6 separate regions of the Homo sapiens genome follow, and regions 1, 2, 4, 5 and 6 are each linked to region 3. Evidence: promoter capture Hi-C in 16 types of primary human blood cells and fetal thymus (Javierre and others, 2016). All regions are on one chromosome and are shown on one strand. Each heading gives the region's core, a stretch centred on a gene start or on the middle of the fragment in contact. The rest is flanking DNA. Distances are from core to core; before and after follow the strand shown.

Region 1 (3,064 bases), core at 106-2,605, 490 kb after region 3:
TTTTTCCGCTTCTTGGCCACCTCCTCCTCAGAGAGGCAGTTGGTTGGCAGGGCCTTGGCTGGGTGTCCAGCTGCTCCCCGGTTCTCCAGCTGAGAAGCCTTGACTGGTGTGGGGAGCTGATGAGGGGAGCCACGACAGTCCAGGGGCCCTGCCCGCTTCACTCTTGGCCCCATTGTCCCATTAAGCCCCATGCTCAGGGCTGTTTTAGTTTTGGCCGAGAGGCCCCTACAGCCAGAGGGTTTCCCTTTTCCAGTGGGCTCCAGGATGCAGGTCCGTTTAAGAGTGGTAGGGCCAGGGGATAACTTCCGCTTTCGAGAAGGGGCCTCCACCTCCACCCCGTCCTTGCCTTTGGATGACTTGCTGGCCTTGGAAGGCGGCAGCTTGCTGAAGGACGGGGATGGCGTGTTGGCAGGCAGTGGTGAGGTGATAGCCTGGCTCCCGCCCATGCACTCTGCCTGGCTACAGGCAGCCGCCACGCTGGGGGAGCCTGCAGGGTAGCTGGGGACAAGGTTGTCCTTGGTGGGGGGCATGGAGGCTGGGCAGGCAGGTCTCAGGGTTGGACCTGGAAGGCGGGGGCAGGTGCCTGTAGAGGATGGGCTCAGGGGAGCAGATAACGGGGAGTTGACAAGGTGAGCTGGAGGTTCAGCTGCCGGTGGGATCTTCCTGCAGCAAAAAGAAAGCCCCACTGTGACTGCCAAGAAACAAGACAGCTTCCCCCAACACAAGACACACTCCAGTCTCTCTGCCCCACCTAGAAATGGTCAGCAGAGCCCCAGAGTTGCTGCCATCTGCTGGGAGATGCTGGAACTGAGGGTTAGGAAGAAGACACAGGGGTGCCTGTGGAGAGGAATTAGCTAGTACCTACTAACTAGGAGGCAGCCCACTAGGAACTTCATTTTAAATCTTGGTTTGGGCATCCCCTATCCCTAGTTACCCAAAAGGTACTGGAAGTGATGGATGAAAGTCTAGATTCACCCCCAGACCACCCTTCCATGCCCTGCCTTAGCCAAACTCTAGGCTGCCAAGTTTTCCCACCTCCTTTTCATGCTACTCCCTATCTGGGGTCCTGCTGGCAAATAGCCAAGGCACACCTATGGGTATACAGGAAAGATCAGGGCTTCTGAAGCCCAAGTATGTCTGGAACCTAGGAATTTCCATTCTAGAACTTCCATTCTGGGTCCGAGAGACTTACTTCCACATGTGTGTGCTGAGGTGCCGTTCCAGCATGGAGCTGAGTGCTGAGCAGAACCGGTCCAGCCGGCGGCTAAACACATAGCATCCTGGGCTCACCAGCCGGCTCCCAAAGGTGCAGAACTAAAGGCAGAAGGAAGGTGCATGGTTGGCAGGGTCTGGGGTGCACAGACAGCATCTGCACACAGGATCTGGCCTCCTCCCCATGTTGTTGGCCAGGAGTGCTGGGCCACCCCCTCCATAGGCCCCTATTCCAGGTCCTTACCGCCTGTGGCCGTGGGGGCCGGGTTGCATAATGGCAGTCAGGGGGTGGGTGGAGGTCGTCAGATGTCCCCTCCTCCTCACTCTCTTCGCTGGAGGCCTGGGTCCCACCCCGGGGCATGGGGAAGGGGAACAGGCCTGGGTCCCCATCACCACCACAGGGGCCTTCATCATCCAATTCACTCTCGGAGGAGGCCCGGGACCTGGAAGGGCCAAAAGGGATGCCAGGGGAATGTGACTGTTGTGGGGTCAGAGTAGGGGCATCCTTGAACCTGCCGAGCTCAAAGAGCAGGGCACCAGGGCAGACACCCTGCAGGGCAATCAGAAGAGGACAGAGGGAAGGGAAGGACAGGAGGGAACGACACAGCTCACAGAGTAAGAGACAGAGAGACTGCTCCCAAGGGATTCTCTCCCCAGCCCCTTCACCTCCCAGCCCCTTCCTCCTCAGGGGATAATCTGCTGCAGATCCGCCTCCTCCAGAAAATCTTCACAGTTAAAACTGTACCCAGCTCTGGTCAGCCCAGTCAACTCGCTCAACCCCCTTCTTGCATCACATATTCCTGTGAGCCTGTCTGTGAGCTGAGCCTGTGTTTCGTGTCTGCCCCTTGTGTGACAGGCAGAGATGCATGTGTGTCTCCTTCAGCAAGTCAGGCTCTCCCTGGGGTCCGGCATAGCCTCTGCACGCGAAGGGGCCAGTGAGTGAATACACATAGGGCTGCCTTGCCCAGGAGTGTGACCCTTTCAGCTCCCCAGTGACAAGTTTCGGTCTGTTGGAGGCAGCTGGGAAAATGTTCATATCCTGAGTGTTGGATCTGGCACACTGCCGAGAGGCTGGGGTGCTGTGGTATGCCTGGTTGGAAACAGGGGAGTCTCCTGCTTCCACACCACTGTCAGGAGCCCCAGGAATACCCCCACACTCAGGGCTGAGGGAGTGCCTCTTCCAGGACACTCCCTGAGCCTGTTTCCAGGGGCCCCTGATGGCTTAGGGGCCAAGTACCCCCAGGTGAGGTAGGGGTTGGATTCTAGACGTACCTGGGCAGTGCACAGTATGGGTAGGTCTGCTTGGCACGAACAGAGAAGGTGCTGCTGGGAGCAGCCACCGCTGCTACAACCTGGACTGAGGAGGGGAGCTCCTGGGAGGGGCGCTCGAGAACTTGCTCCTTGCGCCCTGGGCTCTTCTCCTTGGGAGACTCCCCTTTGCGGGAGTTGGCCTTCAGCTCTGCCACCAGCACGTCAAAGTCCTTGGCCCGGCCCTGGACTTCCCGGCGCTGGTGTACTGAGTGGATCTAGAATACAGCAGAGTGGAGAGCTGGGGAGTAGGTATGAACTGAGAAGGGGTGAGGGACGGCAGGGTGCTTTGGCCCGGGCAAGTTGGGGGGCAGGGAGAGAGGTGGGCATATTTGCAGCTGTGTTCATGTGTCTTTGTTTCATTCCCCCATGGGGCCAAAACCCTCCTTTGGGATGGGGGAATCTGGAAACTCCCTCCTTCCCACTGTTCCCACCTTCTGCCCAGGAGGGGCATACCCATCTCCCCTTCCCTTGGGTGGGCCTAACTGCCCTCCCTTAAGCTGGACCTTCAGTAACATCGACATTCCTCTCTTTGCCCAGGGAA
Region 2 (3,263 bases), core at 492-2,991, 320 kb after region 3:
TGTGGCCAGGTGTGGTGGCACACCTATAGTCTCAGCTATTTGGGAGGCTGAAGTGGGAGGATTCTTGAGCCCAGGACTGGATGTTGCAGTAAGCTACGATGCCGCCACTGCCCTTCACCTTGGGAAGCAGGAGACCTTATTTCAAAAAAAAAACAAAGTTGGAAACACCTTACTAAGCCCATCATAATCTCTATGAACCCAGCTACTGCCAGGGTCACCAGCCAGTCCCTCAGAAGAGGCAGTGACAGACACAGTCTGGGCAGCCAGGAGCAAATAAGACAAGACTATAGCAAATGTGGCTGAGGCTTTATTTTGATCAGGTAGGCCTAAGGCAGGGGCCATGCTGCAGGAGCAGGGCCTGTAAACCAGTCAATGCTGTCATGCAACACGGGGACAGCTCAGGGCTGAGCTCCACAGGCGAGGGGCCAGGTAGGCCCTTCAAAGCAGATACAACCACTAACAGGAAGGAAGGTCAGGCTGGCTTTAGTGCAGGGAAGGGTAGTGTTGGGAGGGGGATGTTCATGAAGGAAAGTGGGTAGCTGAGGCTTCAAAGGGCCTGCATGGGACAGGGGTTTAGGGGAAGTGAAGAGGCCCAATAAAGTCTTGGGGGTAAAGATGGGAATAAACAGGAGAAAGGAACGAGGAGGCAGGTGCTGGGATGCAGAGTCCAGCTGCGCTGCACAGCCTGGGCAGCAGGCTGAGTATGGGCTCCTCACTCCCACCTCCTGGCCTTCAAGGCATTACTTGTTGCCCCAGACAGCCACCCTTGTGTACAGAGGTTTTGGGAGGAAGCGGCTGGACTTCATGTAGGCAGAGATCTTCTCCAAGCCCTGAGAGGGGGGAAAATAAGGCCAGAACTCAAGGTCAGCTGCCCATGAGGGCTGGGACAACCCCACTGCAGACACAGCAGGTCAGGGCCCTGGCCACAGCCTTTCCACGTGGGCTCAAGTGCTGAGGCATCACACAGCCTCTTAGGGTCCCCAGATTTGCGGAGTTAACTCTTCCAACTTCCTTTAAGTAATGTTGTACCACAGTAACAGCTAACACTTATGAAGATTCTACCCGGTGCTGGGTGCTCTGTACCCAAGAGAAATTACAACATAAGCTTAGAAAACCCACTCGACTACTCTGCAAGGCTGAATCTATTATCACCATTTCTCATGTGGGAAACAGAAGTTCAGTAACTTCCTCACACTCAAATAGCTACTAAGGGGGACAGAGCTGCAACGTAGACTGGTTCTGTCTCTCTCCAGTTCTGGCCTCTTTCTGTCAAATCCCCATCCTCCCCCAAATCCCTCAGGAGGTCCTGTCACTCTCTGACTACACAACATTCTCCTGTTTCACAGGGAGGCACCTGGCTTGCCTAGGTTTGCACACACAGAGGGGACCTCTGAAAATGTCTGTGCAGCCTGGAAGAGAGCCCAGATCTCACCCAAGGACCTGGCAAAACCTGGATGAAAGTGGTCAAGGTGTGTTGGACCAGCAAAAGAAACGCCAGACCAGGCTCTAATCATTCCTTTTAAAGCAGAAAGTCTAAACCTCCCCACCTGGTACCTGAGCTAAACACCACTGTGCCCCAACCCACCTCATCTCCAACCCCACTACCTCAGACCAGGCTGTATGACACTCAGGTGTGCTCTGCACGATCTTTCCAGGATCAAATAGCCGTGTAATTTCTAAGGATTCAGAGAGAGCCAGGGCTGCCTATTCCCAAAGGGCCAAGCCCAGGTGGACCATATGCTGCAGCCCTCAGCTCTCTTCCCCTCCCACTACCTCTTACATAACCCCAAGGCCACTCAGCCGAGACCACAGCCAGAGCTGATGGGAACTAGCTGAGTAACCAGATCCCTTGATGGGTAGTGGGAAAGGAAAACAAATTCTAGGCTGAAAAACTTGTTGGACTAATGCCTCAAATTCTCACATCTGTACTAAAAGTAGGATTTGCTGCTCTCAAACAAATTCAGCACGGGTGAGGGATGGTTCCCCATGAGTGAGGGGCAGGCCCCAGGCCTGGTACCCAGGTGGTGCCACACACCTCACAGGCTGCTCTGCCTGCAGGCCTCTCACTGCACTCATTTCCAGGATGGGGCAGTCATCTATGCAACTCCCACTGTGCCTCACACCCTGCCTCATGCAGAGGAGAAGGTCGGTGAATAGCAGTAAAATCAGTGTGCTACTCATCTCACAGGGGGAACACTTGGAACACTGGAGGGAAAAAAGAGAGGAAAAAAGATAAAGAAGGAGAGTGCCCCAGCACAGAGCACTTCAACATACACTCCTTCAACAGGGGCACCCACATATGTACCCTAATCCAGCTCTGGCCACAGCTCTGGCTCTCAGGATTCCCCACGTGGGGGTCTGATCGTGCAAAGCTTCTGGGAGTAGCTATGAATACTGCCTGTGGGTTTCGTACTCGACGTCAATGCCACCGTGTGTCAGTCCTACTATTGCCAGCTGCATCCATGCTCCTAAAGTTCTCTGCCTCTTCCAAAGTGCCCTGGGCTGTGAAATCCAGGCTGGATGAGGCCTGAGGCTTCTTTCTTTTGTCACAAAAGGGAGAGCCCTGACTGCCACCCATAGATCCAGATGCTCACAGGGAGCCCAGCACAGCCTCCACTGGCTCTGGGACCCAGAACAAAGGACTGACCCTCTCATTCAAAGTTTTCTTATCTCTAAATGGGCAAGATAATTCTGTCACCCTGTAGGAATGTTGGAAATTTCAAATTCCACACGATAGGTATAATGTGCTGGGCAAGGTTCCTGGCATGAAGCCAGCACTCAATAAATGCAAGTTATTCTTTATGTAGCTCCAGGACTGGGAAAGCATCTGAAAGGAGGTAACGGAACAAGGGGCATCAAAGAGAAAGGAGGATGGGGGCATCACCTCAAAGCGGGAGATGAAGTCCTTCAGATTTGGAAAGGCGTCCAAGCAGTTGGGCTCAAATATACGGTGGAGGTCAAGGACATCATAGGCGAGGAAATCTACAAAGGTGATCTGCAGAAGGCCAAGAATGTGTGGGCTGGAATCTCTGTAACGTAGGATGTATGGCAAATCTCTAGTGTCCTCATCACATGCCCCCATTACCTTGTCTCCAACAAACCATGGCCTCTTCCCCAGGAACTGTGAGAAGTGCTGCATCATTGTAGGAAGTTCCTCCAAGTATTCTGGCTTCAGTTTCTCCTGAGGCAGAAAACAGCTGTCACCACCCTCAGACACAAGCTCCCTGCACAGATGTGGCCTCCCCAGGGCTGTGTATGGCCCC
Region 3 (2,988 bases), core at 337-2,836:
GTTAATTCACTTAAAAAAAAAAAAAAGAGCCATCTCTCCCACTTAAGACAGCTTAACTAGTTGAAGCCTCAAGGACTTAACTATTCCTGCAGCCCTTGCTTTGTTCAGCCCTGCATCCCATTAAACACTGGATGCAGGCAGAGACAGCTTTGTAAGACTCTGTCTTTATAAAGAAGGGAGACATTTATCTGGGTTCTCACTGGCTTCAGGAAGGTCACCTCTTTGTAAAGGTTCTCTGGTCTACTGCTAACTGGGTGCCAGGTGTATGGAAAATCAAGATGTGGTTGGCAGTAAATGATGAGAAAGCAATAAGGATCCCAATTCCACCACTCGGAGAGCTAGTCAGACTAAAATCTCCAAAGGTTGCCATTTATGAGAGAATTCGAAGGGTGTCCTTTGAGTCAACCTACAGCACAATAGATCAAACTTGTTCTGCCTCAAAAGTACAGTCAAGAGTGAGCAATCTTCCCTTACCACCCACTACTCCAACCCACCCAAGCTCCTTTCTCCAGGGATGCCTAAGTGATCTATTCACATGACTCTAGGATCCACCTGTATCCATGACAGTGTCTGCTGTCACCAACCTCCAAATGTCAATTTCTTACATATTTCGAAGTAATTGGAATGCTGTAGAAAGTGAAAATCATAGATTTTCAGTTTCATGTTACCCTCATCGCTTTCACCTGTATATCAGAGCTAGCTTCACGCATTCTTTTCTCTTGCCTCCCAGCTATCACGCAGTTGTTGGATAAAGCGGCCACTGCTCCCAAAGATTTGATGGAAGTTCTGCCAGATTTACCCACTCACCTGAAGGGAGATTTTCTGTACACCCCATGCCCCCGGACTGGTCACAAGGGTCAGCTGAGTTGGTTCACCCCCTCCCACTCTCGTCTTCGAGGCCCTTCATCCAGGAAAAGTCAGTCGCAAATTTAAGGCCTGGCCCTGTCGGGTTTCAAAACGATCCCGGAGGACTTGGGCCGAGGGACAAAGGAAAGCGAGGTCAGAGGCGGCCTTTCAGCCCGGGAGAGGCCTGGGGCCGCACAGCCGCCACCCCCTACATCACCTCCGCCGTCCCCAGTCACCCCCAGAAGTCCCAAACTAGCCAGAGCCCGGGCTTGCTCGCGTCCCTTCCGCGAGGCCGGAGCCCGAGCCCCCGCCGCCACCCAGAGCCCCCGCACCTTCTTGGGCGCCTTGGTGACGGTGGCCATGAAGGAGTACTTCTCGGCGTCCTCGATCTCCTTGGCCTGCTTCAGCTCCTCCCCGACCCCGGGCAGCGGCATCGCGTCAGGCATCGACATTCCCCGGCCGGCCCGGCCAGCGGCTGACCCGCCGCCCCCGCCTCTTTCCCCCTCTGGCGCCCGCCCGCCTGCCCGCGCGGCGCCCTCCGACACGCGATCGCCCACCCTCCTGCCGGCCCCTGCGTCGAGCTGCGTCGGCTTCTGAGGTGCTGTGGCCCACGCCTTGTCTGTTCGGCAGCCCAAGGCAGCCGGACAGCGACGGCGGCCACAAGAGAACCAGAACAGCAGCTCCGAGCTCCGACCTGCCCGCGCCGCCACCTCCGCTGTACGCAAACACGCACGCAAAGCGAGGGTAGAGGGCGGTGACGCCACGTCAAGTACTGGCAGCTCCCGGGAGGGGGAAGAGGCGGGGAGAAAGGGCACTCTGTCGTGACGTCACCACGCTGGGCTGGGCCACAGAAGCCGTTCCTCTCCCGCTCGAGAGCGAAGTTCCCAGGGTGAGCAGGACCCTTTGTGCCACCAGGTGGCACCATCAGCCCTGGGAGCAGCGCGAGGTTCATGCAACGATGCTGCGGAACGGAGGGTCTTTGGGCTGCGGGGTTCCTGGCAAGGCCTCAGAGGCGCATGAAAGGGGTGTTTGGGAGCAAAGACCAGAGCCCCACACGACACATCCTACAGCGATTCCTAGGAAATGTCCGGGGCTCGAGACAGCCCACTCACTCACTGGCCCAGCCCCAGGCCCTTTGGATTAAAGCTCCTTCCCAAGGGGCCGTGCCTGTCTTTTTGACTTCATAGGGGGCAGAACTGACTCAGAGTAGTCTGGTTTCTGCACAACGCTTTGTGACTTCCTCCACCACCATCTCCGACTGGGCCTTGCCTGTTTACAAAACCCTCATTGGGATAGGGCTGATGGGTATGAGGGTGGAGACCAGGAGAGCTGATGGAGAAGTCCCCAGCCAGAATGGCCTTCCGGTCCTTGCTCCACCAAAGCATTAGACCCTTCCAGCTCTCAGTGGGCATCCAGGACATTCATGGACTGCTCACACCCTTTTACTGGGCCTACTATGTGCAGTGCCTGTGCTGAGGCCCTGCTGGCAAAAGGACATGTGACGCATTTTATGTTTTGCAAGGCTTAGTTCAGCTGGAGAGGCAAAACCTGCTTGTATCCTAATGTCAGCTGAGGTAGCTTGTCCTTTGAGATTCAAATGACATTGGCTCCAATTACCATGTCCTGTGGAAAGTCCATTACTGGGAGGACTTGGATTTTCATGGTCACCTCTGGCTCTAGTTTTTTTGCCTTGTCTGGCATTTTATTCACTATTCTGGTCTTGTGACTGTTTCTGTAGCTCCTGGGGTCAATTCAGCCGCTTCTCCTTTCAACCCCCACCCCATGCTAAACAACTACAAAATAAGGCTGTAACATGTAGTAAAACTTTTAATAAAGGTTTGTGGGTCACAGGGGAGAGATTACATCACACAGCAAACAATTTAAGAACACATTTCTGAAATGTTCTGAAAAGTTATTTTGGCTGTCTTACCACCCGGGGATTTCTCAATGGCCACAAGATCCCACCACGCTCCCTAGCCCATTGCCATCTAATCTAGCTTCCTCCTGTTCCTCCCTTCCCATCTCTGCACCTCATCCTTCCTTCCTTGATAGACTCTGGGAAGCCAGATTCTCCTCTGCTGTGCTGAGCAATTCCAGTCTTCCCAGTGCCCTTTCCCTAAATTCCTCCCCAGGACCACCTTT
Region 4 (3,171 bases), core at 480-2,979, 430 kb after region 3:
GACAGGATAGGAAAAAAGGAAGTATCTGCAGAGGCCTAACAACTCCCTTTTCCTTCCCAAGCTAGAGGATGCAGAAGCTCAGCACCACGGGGGAGGAACAGCATAGTGCTTCAGGTTTTACTAACCATCTCTAAAAGATCTCTAGACTACGAATCAATTTTATTAGAGACAACTGCCTAAAAACTAAAAGACTTTTTTGTAATAATGCATATAAGTTTAGTATGCTAAAAATTATTTTTTAAAGAAACGTAGTAGCAGCGCTTATTAGAACCTTACATGCCCTGTGAAATCTAGTATTAAGCACCCTACTCTATGGCCATCAGTGTACTACAGGAATAGCGTAGTCAGGGAAAATTACATTATTTTAATTCCTGAAAAGGGCCGTATTTTCAGACTGCAAAAGTGATTAATGCTTCTACATGTGGCTTGTCAATTATCCCAGCACCATTTGTGGAACAGGGTGTCCTTTCGCCACTTCACATTTTTGTTTCTTTGTCGAAGATTAGTTGACTGGAAGTTATTTGGCTTTATTTCTGGGCTCTCTATTCTGTTCCATTAGTCTATATGCCTGTTTTTACACCAGTACCATGATGTTTTGGTGATTATGGCCTTACAGTATAGTTCGAAGTCAGGTAATCTAATGCCTCTAGGTTTGTTCTTTTTGCTTAGTCTTGCTTTGGCTATACGGGCTCTTTTTTGGGTCCACATGAATTTTAGGATTGTTTTTTCTAGTTCTGTGAAGAATGATGGTGGTACTTTAATGGGAATTGCATTGAATTTGTAGATATGCTTTTGGCAGTATGGTCATTTTCACAATATTGATTCTACCCATCCATGAGCATGGGACGTGTTTCCATTTGTTTGTATCATCTATGATTTCTGTCAGCCGTGTTTTGTAGTTTTCCTTGTAGAGGTGTTTCACCTTCTTGGTCAAGTATATTCCTAAGTATTGTTTGTTTGTTTGTTTTTTGTTTGCAGCTACTGTAAAAGGTTGAGTTCTTGATTTGATTCTCAGCTTGGTTGCTGTTGGTGTATAGGGCTACTGACTTAAATCTAAGACCCAAAACCATAAAAATTCTAGAAGATAACATTGGAAAAACCCTTCTAGCCATTGGCTTAGGCAAAGACTTCACAACCAAGAACCCAAAAGCAAATGCAAAGACAAAAATAAAAATAAATAAATGGGACTCAACTAAACTAAAAAGCTTCTGAGCAACAAAAGAAATCAGCAGAGTACAGACAACCCAGAGTGGGAGAAAATCTTCACAATCTATACATCTGACAAAGGACTAATATCCAGAATCTACAAGGAAATCAAATCAGCACGAAAAAAACAATCCCATCAAAAAGTGGGCTAAGGACTTGAATAGACAATTCTCACAAGATATACAAATGGCCAGCAAACTTACGAAAACATGCTCAACATCACTAATTATCAGGAACTACAAATCAAAACTACAATGTGATACCACCTTACTCCTGCAATAATGGCCATAATAAAAAAAAAATAGATGTTGGTGTGGATGTGATGAAAAGGGAACACCTTCACGCTGTTGGTGGGAATGTAAACTAGTACAACCACTATGGGAAACAGTGTGTAGGTTCCTTAAAGAACTAAAAGTATATCTACCATTTGATGCACCAATCTCACTCCTGAGTATCTACCCTGAGGAAAGAAGCCATTATACAAAAAAGATACTTGCATACGCATGTTTATAGCAGCACAATTCACAATGGCAAAAATATGGAACCAGCCCAAATGCCCATCAATCAACGAGTGGATAAAGAAAATGTGATATACACACACACACACACACACACCCCTCTACACCCATGGAACACTACTCAGCCATAAAAAGGAATGAAATAATGGCATCTGCAGCAACCTGGATGGAACTGGAGACGATTACTCTAAGTGAAGTAACTCAGGAATGGAAAACCAAACATCGTACGTTCTCACTTGTAAGTGGATGCTAAGCTATGAGGATGCAAAGGCCTAAGAATGATACAACGGACTTTGGGGACTCGGGGGAAAGGGTGGGAAGGTGGTGAGGGATAAAGGACTATACATTGGGTACAGTGTAGACTGCTCAGGTGATGGGTGCACCAAAATCTCAGAAATTGCCACTAAACTTATTCACGTAACCAAACATAACCTGTTCCCCAAAAACCTATTGAAATGTTAAAAAAGTGACTAATGCATTTAAATAAAAGACACAAAGAATGATACATGCTTATAAAACACAAAGCTTTTTTTCCCCGAAACACAGATGCATCCTCACATGAAATGTAACTGGCCATGAACCTTATCCCAAGCAAATGGCAAACATAATAAAGGGTATAATCCCATAGGAGGATATAATGTAATGGCATGTTTACCAAAGGGCAGTCTTATTCTCAATAATAAGCATATTCAGCCAATAATATGCAGCAATTTAAATATAATTAACTGTATAATATAGAGTTTAAGTAAATTAGATGATTCCAGTTCTCTGCATGCAACTGGCTTTTTGCCATACTACCACCAGCAAATCCCAAAGAACAAAGTTTTTTTTTATGTTTTCTCAGAACCTGCTAAAGGAAACTATCAAGAAACAGAAATACAGAGAGCAGATAATTCAATAATTTACAAAACTAAGTATCTTCATTAGTACAGTGATGAGTAAAAAAAAAGGACTAACATTTAATTCCTTTCACCACAAAAGGATATTAAAATTCTTTGAAGATCTTTGAAAATAGTATATTAATATGAAAAATAATAAAACAGCTGTCTGAAAAACCTCTGAAAAAAGTAGCTAAAATGGTAATTCTCACGATCATCATCATCAATAGAAGTGACCACTTACTATTTTTTATTTGCTAGGCACTAATGTGAAGCATTTTACATGCATTATCTCATTTCATATTATGAAACATCATCTCTGCTTTACATATGTAAAAATTATTATTCTTATGGTTAAGTTACTTGCTCTGGGTCTCAGAGCTAATAAGTGGAGGTAGAACTTAAATTCAGTTTTGTGTGAATCCAAAAGCAGTGCTCTTATCCATTATACCAGTGCTTCCCAACCTTTGTCACATGATGGCACACATTAAAAATATTTGTAAGGCTCATTGGGGTGAGCTGAAAGAGCTTGGTGAAAAAAAATTTTCTTGCTTGCCCTGGGGTCAAAA
Region 5 (3,102 bases), core at 239-2,738, 410 kb after region 3:
CTATAATCCCAGCTACTCGGGAGGCTGAGGCAGGAGAATCGCTTGAACCCAGGAGGCAGAGGTTGCGGTGAGCCAAGGTCACACCATTGCACTCCAGCCTGGGCAACAAGAGTGAAACTCTGTCTCAAAAAAAACAAAAAACAACAACAAAAAAAAAAACAGAAGAGGCCCCTCTTTACAATAAACTTCACACCTCCACACTTAAGCAGATGTGAAAAAGGAACCTATTCCACACTCAGCTCTATTTTTTTTCCATTCACACTCTCTAACCAACTATAAAAAACTAGAGTAGAAGCCGGGCACAGTGGCTCACACCTGTAATCCCAGCACTTGGGGAGGCCAAGGCAAGTGGATCACCTGAGGTCAGGAATTCAAGACCAACCTGGCCAACATGACGAAACCCCATCTCTACTAAAAATACAAAAATTAGTCAGCCGTGGTGGCAGGCGCCTGTAATCCCAGCTCCTTGGGAGGCTGAGGTAGGAGAATCACTTGAATCCAGGAGGCAGAGGTTGCAGTGAGCCAAAATCGTACCGTTACACTCCAGCCTGGGTGACAAGAGCAAAACTCCGCCTCAAAAAACAAACAAACAAAAATACTAGAAGACAATAAGAGAGGAGCTATAAACATAAAACCTTACACACAGAAGGAAAAATAAAAAGCAATGTTTAAAAATTATAATATAGGATTACAGACTAGGTTGTGTGGACACCAGAAAGCTGGATGATTTAGGAGGCCTGAGAGGGACTAATGATGTCAACTGCATCTGGTGACACAAGAGTATTAGGATACAAAGATTAATGACAATTGATTTGATAATGGAAAGAAATGGGGCCGGGAGCGGTGGCTCACGCCTATAATCCCAGCACTTTGGGAGGCCGAGGCGGGCGGATCACAAGGTCAGGAGTTCGAGACCAGCCTGGCCAACATGGTGAAACTCCATCTCTACTAAAAATACAAAAATTAGCTGGGCGTGGAGGTGAGCGCCTGTAATCTCAGATACTCAGGAGGCTGAGACAGGAGAATCGCTTGAACCTGGGAGGCAGAGGCTGCAGCCAGCCATTGCATTCCAGCCTGGGCGACAGGGCGAGAGTCCGTCTCCAAAAAAAAAAAAAAAAAAAAAAAAAGAAATGAAAGGGTAGGGAGATAAATAAAGGAAGACAGACGGCGGGGAATAAAATTAAAGAGGGAAAGAGAAAAGGGACAAACTAAAAGAATAAATAACTGAGACAGAGAAAAAACCAACAGAGAGAAGGAAGAGAATAAATACAGTACTACTGACCAGTTACCAGATACAACAAATACAACAGAGAAGTAGAGTTAGGTGATAGGGAGAAATGAGAAAAGGGAGGAAGAAAAAATAAGACCACAGATAGAGCTGGTATAAAGAAGAAAAAGAGGAAAAGAAGGAAACAAAAGCAGGGGGTGAGAGAAGGAATAGGAAAGGGTAAGACAAGGATAAAGGCTTTATTTTTGCTTGACTGCCAAACTTCCCTGCTCAGATGCATAGAAAAATAGTCTCTGTGATATATTTCACAAAAATATAAAAGTCACATTCACATATTTTCTTATTTTTTGATACAAGTCTCTCATTTCACAATCCCTAATCCAGCTCCTCTTCCTTTATGCCATTTCTAAGACACTTTCTAGTCTAACACTATCCAACTGTGACTACCCTTTCAGTATTTCCCCTCAACAATTTCCTATCTTTTTATCAAATATAAATTCGCATTTGATAAGTTGGGAGTGGCTTATGAGAGTTCCTAAGCAACTTCATAGACATATAGGTTTTGCCTTTCCAGGCAGACCTCCCAAATCATTTCCTTTTATTTCGCCATGGCACATAAGTATGACACTCTGAACACAGCCAGTGAGTCCCTTAGATGTAGGAAATAATTCTATAATTTCCCAGCCTTCTCTGGATTTTAGCTGATAATAATATCAAAGATCTCCTGCCTTCATATTGGCACCCTCCCCAATGGCATAAAACATCCTAATTACACATGCTCTAATTTTATAAACTAGATCTTCAGGGTCCACTAAGTATTATTATAATAATACAACTTTTTAAATAGCTGACATGTGCAAGGCATTAAAGAATTATACTAGGGCATGTTATACTCCAATTCTATAGCCTTAGGTTCCATGTAGTATACAGTATTCTTGAATATCTGACTTAGATATTCAAGAATTTGGACTTAGTGCTCATGTCCTTACAGAATTTATTCTGGGAGACTGATTTTGGCCTTTAATCTGTACACCTCAGAAAGCAGAGCTACATATCATGGCAACCTTTCTCTTAGATTATTTTAATGTACTATTATCTACTACTATAAAAGTCAACAGTGCTGTTAAAAAAAAAAAAAAAGCAATTGAATAGAACAGTTATCCCAGAAACCTACCGTGCACCCACAGAATCCCATTTCCTAGGCTCCTCTTGGGGTGGTTATATCTAACACCTGCTAAAGTAGATTGCTAACATTTCTCAAGTGAGCACAAAGTACTTTGCTACATTTTATCTTGTTGCTTAAATTCATTTCCCTAAAACATGAAGCAAAAATTTTGCTTAACTTAACTGTATCTGCTGAATAAGAGCAAGTGAAGAGGAAATGAGAAACACTTACTGCCCTGGCAGCTTCCCCAAAGTCAATCTTTAGCCGTCCCATGGCTCTTATGATTGCAATGATGGACTGTATAGTATTGCTGTAGACAACTACTTTATATTGTTTACATTCATCCTCTGAATAGCCATCCTCATGAATGATTCTTTAAAACAAAGAAAACCACAAGTCAATACCATGGACCTAAAATGAAAAGATACTATGGACTTTATATGCATTAGGAGAAATCCTAGTCTAACAAAACGCTACATTCCAACTTACTTCATCTGTTTCACAATGGTGCTTTTACCAGATTCTCCAGCACCTGTAAGAAAAGAAAACCAGACTTTGAATTTCTCGGTAATCAACATAAAAGTATAATATCAACATGAATGATAACTCTAGATTGATGAAAACCACGGGTCCTAGGGAAAATTTTGGTGAGGCTTTCATGTCTATCAAGAAAATGTATGGAGCTTCTCCACTACAGCATTTTGCTTTC
Region 6 (3,089 bases), core at 583-3,082, 480 kb after region 3:
CATGAGAAACTGCCAAGCCAGAACTGTCCACCAGACTGCTCTTGAATCTGACCAACAGACACTGTGAAAGGCAATAAATGTATATTGCTGTAGGAAGTCACTAAGTTTTGGGGTAATGTGATTATGCAGCAATAGATAACTGATGCAATGTGATTTCAAGATTCTTCACACCTTGTCCTCCAAAAAGATTACCCTCCTCATCTTTTCAATGATGCCTGAAATGAACAGAACAGAACATCTTTCTCTTTTTTCTTTCTTTCTTTCTTTCTTTCTTTCTTTCTTTCTTTCTTTCTTTCTTTCTTTTTTTTTTTTTTTTTTGAGACAGGATCTTGCTCTGTCACCCAGGCTGGAATGCAGTGACACAAACATGGCTCACTGCAGCCTTGACCTCCAGGGCTCAAGTGATCCTCCGACCTCAGCCTCTCAAGTAGTGGGCACCACAGGTGCGTGCCACCATGCCTTTTTTTTTTTTAAGAGACAGAGTCTCACCATGTTGCCCAGGCTGCTCTCGAACTCCTGGGTTCAAGCAATCCTCCTGCCGCAGCCTCCCAAAGTGCTGGGATTACAGGTGTGAGCCACTGCACCTTGCAGAAAGACCTTTTCACACTATGCATAAGATTAACACGCTAATACTCCTTGAAGAGATAATATATTCACTAAAATTCATGGTAAAACATGTGACAGATATAAATTCTTTTTAAAACTCTTAGCAAGCTAATCTACTGAGACATTAATTTCAGTCTTGATCTTGCTGTTATAAGAGACTGGAACAAATAAAAAGGTAATTTCTTATGGTCCACCATCTCAAGAACAGCTAACATCTTGAATGATAAGGTCTAGGCTCTTCCTGCATCTCTCTCTTTCCTCACCCCCAAACCCAAACAACATACACTAGTAACAGCTTCTTGTTGTTTCAGGGGCCACCCTAAAGAAGAAACCCCTCCACCTCCACCACTGGCCTTCATCTTGAGGATTAGGTAACAGAGAAACTATGTTGCAATTGCTCCATAAGGGGAGTGGGGAGCTGGCACTGGTTTAGGAAGAAGGCAAGTGGCCAGACCTAAGGGCTGAATGACTTCCTCCGGGCTGGGAAGGGTTTCGGAGTTTCCAGGAATGGAAATTGTCCCTGGCTTGTATGCAGTCCGTGTGTGTGTGTGTGTGTGTGTGTGTGTGTGTGTGTGTGTGTGTAGCAGGTGGAGTGGGGAGAGGTGCATGAGGTGTCTGTAAAGGGGTGTTCTGGGGCCTGGGCTCACCAAACACCCCCTTTCCCCTCACTCCTGCGCAGCTGGCTTGCAGGCTAAGGAGCTGTGCCCTTCAGTGGTACCTCAAGGGTCATGAACTAGTAGCATCAAGACGGGGGTGGGGTGGGGGGAACCCCTCCCCCAATTTTTGAGACCCCACAGCCACAGAGAGAAGGGAGGGGGAACCTCAGAATGTGACTAATGAATTTCCCGCCAACATTGGCAGGCGGGAGCTGAGCCAGATTTCTTCAATTTGCGAAATTAAAAGACATGTGACGCCTCTTGCCCGAGTAGGTGCAGCGAATTCACTTTAGTTAGACTTTTCCTGAGAGCCGGTCTGTGTAGCGAGAAGGGTGCTGGGAGATGGGGGAATGGGGGATGGAGGAAGTTATAGCGGAGCCTAAGGGGCCAGTGCCGCTCTTCCTGCCAATTTTCGTCTTTAGCTCAGCGTCCGGAGCTCGCTGGTTGAGGGAACGACCCCGCGCGCGTCCGCCCGGCCGGCTCCGACACAAACACACGCACGTGCGCCCCGCCCCCGCCGCGCGCACGCGCCCCGAGGCTCCGGCGGCGGCGACGGGCGCGCGCGCGGTGCTCGCTGCCCCCACGCCGCTCCCTCCGCTGGGATCGCTGCGCCTCCGGCTCCCCGCACCGATCCGCGCCAGGCCTGCGGACCTGGAGGCAGCGACCGCGGTCGGTGGGCTCCGGCGGGCTCAGCGGTCGAGGCGGTGGCAGGGTGAGCGGAGCGGGGCCCCGCAAGTCCCCGGGAGGCGACGGTGCCGGGCGCGGGCCCCTGCGTAAGGTGGGCGCAGTGACAGGCCGGCCGGTGAGGCGCCGCCGGGAGAGGCCGCGACGGAGCTCCCAGACCGGCCATGGGCTGAGACACGTCCTCGCCGAGCAGGTGCAGTGACCGGAGGCCCCGGGGGGAGCCCGCCCCTACAGGCCCCGGGGACCCTCAACCCCGACCGGACGCGTCCTACCCAGCCCGGTGCCCTGTTGACCTTCCCTCAGCTCCTCCCAAAAGGCACACCGACCCCACCTCCAAACCCTGCCCGTGCCATCCCTGTGACTCCCAGCAGTCCCTGCCATCCTGTGCATACCTGCAGCCTGCACCCCTGTGACCCCAGCCCAGTAGGCCCTCGGGCCACCTCCTCTTCGGCCGATATTTACAGCCCACTGCCTGCACAGTGCCTGGAAACTACCCAGCATCTCTCTCTCCTAGCCCAAAGGGGGTGGAGGTAAGGGTGGGAGGGGAAGTGGGAGAGGGTGTCCTTCCCTCTGGAGTCCTTGGTGACCACAAACCCATCCTCTTTCTCTCAAGTGACCCTTCCGTACCCCACCAGAACATGCCCGGGTGACCTCCTCCCAGATCTTCCTTGTGGCCTTCCTCGCCCACTCCAGTGACACTATGCACCCCCACCGTGACCCGAGAGGCCTCTGGCTCCTGCTGCCGTCCTTGTCCCTGCTGCTTTTTGAGGTGGCCAGAGCTGGCCGAGCCGTGGTTAGCTGTCCTGCCGCCTGCTTGTGCGCCAGCAACATCCTCAGCTGCTCCAAGCAGCAGCTGCCCAATGTGCCCCATTCCTTGCCCAGTTACACAGCACTACTGGACCTCAGTCACAACAACCTGAGCCGCCTGCGGGCCGAGTGGACCCCCACGCGCCTGACCCAACTGCACTCCCTGCTGCTGAGCCACAACCACCTGAACTTCATCTCCTCTGAGGCCTTTTCCCCGGTACCCAACCTGCGCTACCTGGACCTCTCCTCCAACCAGCTGCGTACACTGGATGAGTTCCTGTTCAGTGACCTGCAAGTACTGGAGGTGCTGCTGCTCTACAATAACCACATCATGGC

The links. Contacts are between HindIII fragments. The CHiCAGO score rates a contact against its expected background, and 5 or more counts as called.
Region 1: a fragment that was not itself captured here is called in contact with the fragment with the promoter of AHCYL1 in region 3 in 3 of 17 cell types (non-activated CD4 T cells, neutrophils and naive B cells); the score reaches 6.9 in non-activated CD4 T cells.
Region 2: a fragment that was not itself captured here is called in contact with the fragment with the promoter of AHCYL1 in region 3 in 1 of 17 cell types (M2 macrophages); the score reaches 5.2 in M2 macrophages.
Region 4: a contact is called between a fragment that was not itself captured here and the fragment with the promoter of AHCYL1 in region 3, in 7 of 17 cell types (erythroblasts, non-activated CD4 T cells, naive CD4 T cells and 4 more). The highest score is 7.0, in erythroblasts.
Region 5: a contact is called between a fragment that was not itself captured here and the fragment with the promoter of AHCYL1 in region 3, in 2 of 17 cell types (naive CD8 T cells and M2 macrophages). The highest score is 5.7, in naive CD8 T cells.
Region 6: the fragment with the promoter of AMIGO1 here is called in contact with the fragment with the promoter of AHCYL1 in region 3 in 1 of 17 cell types (neutrophils); the score reaches 6.3 in neutrophils.

The regions. Positions count from the first base shown.
Region 1 is chr1:109,488,521-109,491,584 of GRCh38, reverse strand. ATXN7L2 (ataxin 7 like 2) reads right to left here. Exons shown (of 11, transcript NM_001350175.2): 7 at 2,485-2,738; 8 at 1,457-1,655; 9 at 1,193-1,314; 10 at 1-663. Among named protein-coding and RNA genes, the nearest start is that of CYB561D1, 4.0 kb to the left of the region's middle. RefSeq lists a silencer at 679-728. The HindIII fragment of the contact is 4,525 bases long and covers 1-3,064 here.
Region 2 is chr1:109,658,732-109,661,994 of GRCh38, reverse strand. It overlaps GSTM4 (glutathione S-transferase mu 4), which reads right to left. Exons shown (of 8, transcript NM_000850.5): 6 at 3,086-3,181; 7 at 2,885-2,995; 8 at 295-830. The coding sequence ends at 741. Among named protein-coding and RNA genes, the nearest start is that of GSTM4, 4.3 kb to the right of the region's middle. The HindIII fragment of the contact is 1,267 bases long and covers 1,108-2,374 here.
Region 3 is chr1:109,983,363-109,986,350 of GRCh38, reverse strand. It overlaps AHCYL1 (adenosylhomocysteinase like 1), which reads right to left and starts at 1,586. Exons shown (of 17, transcript NM_006621.7): 1 at 1,179-1,586. The coding sequence starts at 1,298. RefSeq lists silencers at 1,041-1,110, 1,291-1,360. The HindIII fragment of the contact is 11,948 bases long and covers 1-2,988 here.
Region 4 is chr1:109,552,730-109,555,900 of GRCh38, reverse strand. The region is part of intron 1 of GNAI3 (G protein subunit alpha i3); the gene reads right to left. Among named protein-coding and RNA genes, the nearest start is that of GNAI3, 5.7 kb to the right of the region's middle. The HindIII fragment of the contact is 1,044 bases long and covers 1,208-2,251 here.
Region 5 is chr1:109,573,560-109,576,661 of GRCh38, reverse strand. It overlaps GNAI3 (G protein subunit alpha i3), which reads right to left. Exons shown (of 9, transcript NM_006496.4): 2 at 2,883-2,925; 3 at 2,625-2,766. Among named protein-coding and RNA genes, the nearest start is that of MIR197, 24 kb to the left of the region's middle. The HindIII fragment of the contact is 8,274 bases long and covers 1-3,102 here.
Region 6 is chr1:109,508,470-109,511,558 of GRCh38, reverse strand. It overlaps AMIGO1 (adhesion molecule with Ig like domain 1), which reads left to right and starts at 1,832. Exons shown (of 2, transcript NM_020703.4): 1 at 1,832-2,139; 2 at 2,560-3,089. The coding sequence starts at 2,647. LOC105378893 (a long non-coding RNA gene) reads left to right here. Exons shown (of 3, transcript XR_001738179.2): 3 at 918-957. RefSeq lists silencers at 1,829-1,948, 2,009-2,158, 2,169-2,228. The HindIII fragment of the contact is 14,739 bases long and covers 1-3,089 here.